2 separate regions of the Homo sapiens genome follow, and region 1 is linked to region 2. Evidence: promoter capture Hi-C in 16 types of primary human blood cells and fetal thymus (Javierre and others, 2016). All regions are on one chromosome and are shown on one strand. The core of a region is centred on a gene start or on the middle of the fragment in contact, and the rest is flanking DNA. Distances in the headings are between cores, read along the strand shown.

Region 1 (2,795 bases), core at 230-2,729, 1.5 Mb before region 2:
TCAGAAGAGCCTAGAGATGCCGCTGTCCTCTCCGTCCTCGCTGCCTCTCAGCACTGCAGGAGGGAAGGTGGAATTCACACCCAGACCCAGGGCTTCAGGTCTTGTCCCACCGACTGGTCTTAAACTACAAGTTGCTTCTTCTCTTTAGCATCTTCTTTGAGTTCCCACTGTCCCCAGCTTCACTTTCTTGCTGACTCAGCCTTTTGCTGCTTAAAACAGAGAAGAAAGGCAGCCAGTTAGAACGCTGACTCCATGCCCATCATGATGCCATAACTTACCCAATCGGATTAAATGAAAATGCAGCCAAAGGTGATCAAAACAATTTTTACTTTGACATGGGTTGTTAAGAAACCAATAAAACCCGTTTCCCTCCTTGGGTAGGAGGTCATCCAAGTGCCATGACCACAGCCATCCCTGGTCAAAGAAGGGACTGCCCAACACTTCAGGCTGGATGCCAATGGGGTGTGGAGGTAGGTCAAGGCTCATCTGGCCAAATGAGACACAAACAGGAAGGGTAACAGCCATGTGGCACCCCTGGTATCATCATGGCTTACTGCCCACAAATTACGTTCATATCTGTCATTTCTTGAACCTTCACATTTAATGCCTCTGAGGGGACTGATGATTTTCCTGCCCTGACTTTTGGCACACAGCAGCTGAGTGCATTTACCAAACCCAGCCACAGGCAACAGGTCCGGGGCCCAGTCATACCTGAGTGAGCCTGAGGTCTGGTCCCCGGAGGCAAGGTCCTCATTGTTGGGCACCCCCAGGTCCCCTCTTTCCTGGGGCAGGGGCTTCTTCCTTTTAGTCCTTAGGGGCTTCTCTGTAGAGGACAGATGAACCCAGGCATGGCTCTGTGACTTTAGACAAGTGACAACTTCTTGCAGCCTCACACCAACCCAGCCTGACATTTTTGAGCATGTTGTGTGGGCCAAGTGTATGCTTGGTATCTTATGCTATTGCAGCCACTCAACTAATGAGGAAACTGAGGCCTGGGAAGGTGACGTACTCTCCCAAGCCTGCACAAGCCAGGAAGTGGCAGAGCTGTGGCTTGAGCTCCAGTCTGCTAGGCTCCCGCTGGGTATCCACTCTACCCAGCTGACTGGAAGACTTAATGAAGCAGCAAGCAACTGAAAACCCAGCACCAGTGTGACAGCTTTTGTTTCAGTAGATCTCTGTGTTCTCACACCACCTTCTGAGTCACTCTCTCATTACCAGGTTAAAAAATCCTGTGATGTCACTGAAGTTGTCGCTGGCAAGGGTGGGAGGAGGGCTTATCCCCACTTTACAGATGGAAAAATGGAGTCAGTTAGGAGACACAGCCAGTGAACACCAGACCCAAGAACTGGAATTATCAAATGCTAGAGAGCAAGTGGGCCTGAGGGGTGGCCTAGCCAAGCCTGCTCATTTACAGACAAGGTCACAAAAGCCCAGAGAGCCTAGGCACGATGCCTAAGGTCACACAGCTAGTTAGTGGCCAGTGTGGAACTAGAATCCGTATCTCTCAGCCCAGAGTGCTTCCCGCTGCAACTCAAGCATCTGTGACTCACCTAGCAGCCCACGCTTAGCAGGCAACAGTTTGCTTTCAGCAAGGGGCACTCGGGCCAAGGCTGCCAGCTCGGAGATGAAGTTCTGTTCAGCTTCCTGAAATGCAAGCAGAGAGGAGCATTCAGCTGGGCCTCCCTCTGACTTCTCTAAATCCCTCTCCACGTGAGTGAATTCTGACACTTGAGGCTGGCCACTGAAGACCACGTCTCCCGTGTGGAGGAGAATTTTCCAACATACATCCCAGAGAGGAGAGGAGCAGGAGGACACACTGGCATCTACCAGCTCCTGCTGCATAACTGTGGGTCCTCACTCACACTGGCCGTCGGTCTTCAGTTGACAGAGTACACTGAGGTCAGAGGGCCTCAGTGACCTGCCCGGAGCAGGTGCAGCAGAATAGGATGGGACTCACTTCTGCCCGACTCCACAGGCTGGGCTCTAAACTTCCAACACTGTGGTGTAAACAAACACACCAGAATTCCATGATGCATTAACTGTGTGACCCTGGATAGCAACGTAACCTGTGCATGCCTCAGTTTGTCCATCTGTAATGGGGACAGTAGCAGTAACCTCTTTTGTTGGAAAGTGTGTGCAAAGCTCTCAGCTCATGACTATCTATCATAGACCCTCAATAAGTACCTATCGGCCACCACTGCTGTATTCTTACCACTGTCACTCTGCGACTGCCATCGCCAGTGGAGAACACTCTGAAAGGGCCAACACTCTGCTAAATGCTTCCATTCTGGAAGATTTGATTTTTTTAAAGGCAGCCACTTTGCTTAGCCACACTTTATACTCTCACCTTACATCTCACTGTATAACCTCACACAAATGGGATTTTCTGTAATGAAATATGCACTTTATATCATGAGAGCTGAGCTTCCTGTTTGCTGTAAATAAAGTGTAAACTTTAGCTATCGCCAACACTGCCTGAGTGACACAGAGGTCACCATTACACCGGAAGCCTCCTGGTGGCCATGCGCACACAGGGGAATGCTCAATTCTCTGTCAGCTCCATAGATGAGGCCTGACCAGCTGCTCAGGGCCTGGCCCTGCTTAGCATGCTGCAGCTGCTGTAGGGATCCACACAGGCCACACTTGCCCTCCAGGGGCTCAGGGTCCTAAGGCGAGGCCGACACACCCTCAGCAGGTGAGACTCAGCGGGTCAACGATGCCACAGGCAGGGAAGTGCAGTCCCCATGGCTGACGTGTGGTCACAGGCTGGCTTCAGCTATTTCTGCTCCTCTTTA
Region 2 (2,861 bases), core at 295-2,794:
GGACAAACAAACAAACAACAACAACCAAACCCAAAAACAGTACGAGAGCACAAACAAGACTGAAGTACACATATGTGCCCTGAACACAAAAAACATCTTGAGCACCCTGCTTTTAAGCCTCCTGGCCATTCTGTCACTTCTGTTGGAAAGTATTTCCCTCCTTGTCCATTTCTGTGAATTCCTTCTGTTATGGTTAAACTGTTCCCCCAGCACTCCAGAATGTGATTGTATTTGGAGATCAGGCTTGTAAGAAGGTAATTAAGTTAAAATGAGGCCATTAAGGTGGGCCCTAATACAACCTGACTGACGTTCTCATAAAGAGGAAATCTGGATGCAAAGAGAGACGCCAGAGATGTGAAAACACAGAGGAAAGACCATGCGAGGACACAGCAAGAAAGCAGCCACGTGCAAGCCAAGGAGAAATGTCTCAGAAGAAACCAAACCTGAAGACACCTTGATCTTGGACTTCTAACCTCCAGAACTGTGAGAAAATAATAAATTTCTGTTGTTTAAGCCACCCAGTATTTTGTTTGCAGTCCTAGCAAACTAATACACCTTCTATTCCAGGCCCAACACTGCTCACTTTCAGAGTGAAACCTTATCACCCATATACACACACCTTGGGAGTGAAGGTTTCTCACAATACTCTGTGCATCCTCCACTCAACTTTCATTCATTCATTTAAGCAACAAACACCTAGTGACCACCACTGTGTGCCAGACCCTGTTTTAAGGGCTGAGAAGAGCTAACGTTTATTGAGTACTTACTAAGTGGCAGCCACTAGTCTAAGCGATTTACATGCACCAACTCATGAAATACGACAAGGTTCCAGGGACGCAGGTGCCGCTATGACATTCGCTTTACAGATGCGGGGCTGAGGCACAAAGAGGCCACACCGTAATGAAACTGAGCTAGGCTGTGGGCTCTGTCGTCTTAAGCGCTACTCTCAACTACAGCGTGGAAGGAAACAGAAGCCGAGAGATGGGCAGCGCGTAGCGGAGGCGGGCCGGGCTGGCTTCCAGCGGGCAAAGCCTGGAGATGAGAGGGCGCGGGTGGGGTTTCCAGGCCGAGGAAGCTGCACCAGGGAGAAGGCCCGGCTCCCAGGCCCGGAACCTGGCCGTCTGGGTCTCAGTCCGCGTCCCCTGTGATGCCCGGCACAGAGCAAATGCTCGCTGACTCTCGCAGGAGCCGCCAACCCCCCGGGTATCCTCGAGTGCCCAGAGACGGGAAGGAGCGGTGGGTCCATGCCCTTCTGGGCCACCTTCGGGCGCCCGGCCTCCCTTCCCTTCCGGGCCATTCCCACCAGCGCCAGCCCCGCACGCCTTCGCAAGGCCGGCCACCTTACCCTCGGAGGCCGCTCTCTGCCCCGCCGCCTACTCTTCACCTGCAGCAGCTGCCTTCAAGGCCACTCGCAGCGATCCGCTGGCCGCGGAATCATCACGACAACGCCCCCTTGGCTTGCCGGAACCGCCTTCCTGCTTCCGTTGGCGTCACTTCCACTGGGGGGGGCGTGGCCGCGGTGCGCAGGCGCGCTGGGTGGTTCAGAAGCGAATTCTGCACCGCGAAGCCTGAGAGGCAGGTAGCTGCGGCGCTGGGCTGGCGGCGGCGAGTCCACGTGCTCCCCGCGGCCGGTTGAAACCGTTGGCGGGCGCTGGCTGAGAGGTGAGGGGTGGTGGCCCAGAGGTCCGACCTGGGAGGCTGGGGCTCAGAGAGTGAGTAGGGGAGGGACGGGATTTCCACCGTCAGCCCCTCTGGGTTACGCATGGAGGAAGGAGTTCCATTCAGATCTCACTCCTGCTCTGGGGAAGTGGCAGGAGTCCTGGACTTAGGGTGACCAACTCGTTTTAGTTTTAAAACTTAAGGTCCGGCGTCCTGGGAACTCCCTCGGGCCTGGCCAAACCAGGACGATTGGTCACCGCCCGACTGGGCTTCAGGCTTGCTGCATGTTGGAGACAGGGCTCTTCTCTGAGCCTTGGGAGATCAGTCCCTAAAGAGGAGGCCTTAGGATGTAGCGGTCCAGAGCACATACTTAGGATCAGAATAACTACTGCGTGTGAATCTGGGTTGCCACTACCTGGATGTGGGATGACCTGGTGTAAGTTTTTTAACCTCTTTGCGCCTCACTTTCCTCATCTGTCATAACATATAGAATCTAACTCGGAGAACTGTGATGAGGATTACATGAGTAGAAATGTGTTAACCTCCTATGAGAGGGCTTGGGTGCTCCATGAATGTTAGGATTCTCTGAAGCACCTACCTCTGAGGAGAGAGGGAGGAGGATGAGGTGGGGTCTGTATTTGCAACCCTGATTTCTAGCAGAGAGGGCCCACTTGGGACTTACTCACACTGTGCCCGAGGCTCCCAGGGTCTAGCATAGTGCCTGACACATGGTAGTTACTCGAGTGAAGGGATGGTGTTTAAAACAGTGCTGGTGATGCCGTGGGTGGGGTAGGAGGCAGAGAGAAATGGCTTCTGTGCCTCAGTTTGCTCATCTGTTTAGTGGAGATAGGTGCACCTACTTCCCAGGGCTTTTGCAAGGAACAAGGGAGAGATTCTCTCCTTGTGAATGTCACCCATTGTAACCCTTGTCAGCCTCATACACAAAGGTTTAGGCAGGATGGTGGACAGAGTATGTTTGTCTGTCCTTCTCTTGCACCATACCCATGGTTTCTCAGAATGCTACCCGTGGAAGGGGCTTGAGTCTTGTCAAGTTGGCCTGACTTCTTGTTTCACAGATGAGATAACTTGAAGTTTATAGAGGCAGTGGCATGCTCAGGGTCACAGTGTTCAGTGGGGGATATCCTGGGGTTGCCAGCTAGGCCCCTCAGGTGGGCTGTTTGAGTGGTAGTGGTGGTAATGAT

What was found. The method cuts DNA at HindIII sites, captures the fragments that hold promoters and counts their contacts. A CHiCAGO score of 5 or more calls a contact.
Region 1: a fragment that was not itself captured here is called in contact with the fragment with the promoter of LYAR in region 2 in 2 of 17 cell types (naive B cells and total B cells); the score reaches 7.0 in naive B cells.

The regions. Positions count from the first base shown.
Region 1 is chr4:5,808,367-5,811,161 of GRCh38, reverse strand. EVC (EvC ciliary complex subunit 1) reads right to left here. Exons shown (of 21, transcript NM_153717.3): 19 at 1,551-1,644; 20 at 712-823; 21 at 1-209. The coding sequence ends at 125. Among named protein-coding and RNA genes, the nearest start is that of CRMP1, 83 kb to the left of the region's middle. The HindIII fragment of the contact is 3,963 bases long and covers 1-2,795 here.
Region 2 is chr4:4,288,837-4,291,697 of GRCh38, reverse strand. LYAR (Ly1 antibody reactive) reads left to right here and starts at 1,544. Exons shown (of 10, transcript NM_017816.3): 1 at 1,544-1,662. It overlaps ZBTB49 (zinc finger and BTB domain containing 49), which reads right to left and starts at 1,447. Exons shown (of 8, transcript NM_145291.4): 1 at 1,346-1,447. RefSeq lists an enhancer at 2,519-2,861. The HindIII fragment of the contact is 4,525 bases long and covers 1-2,861 here.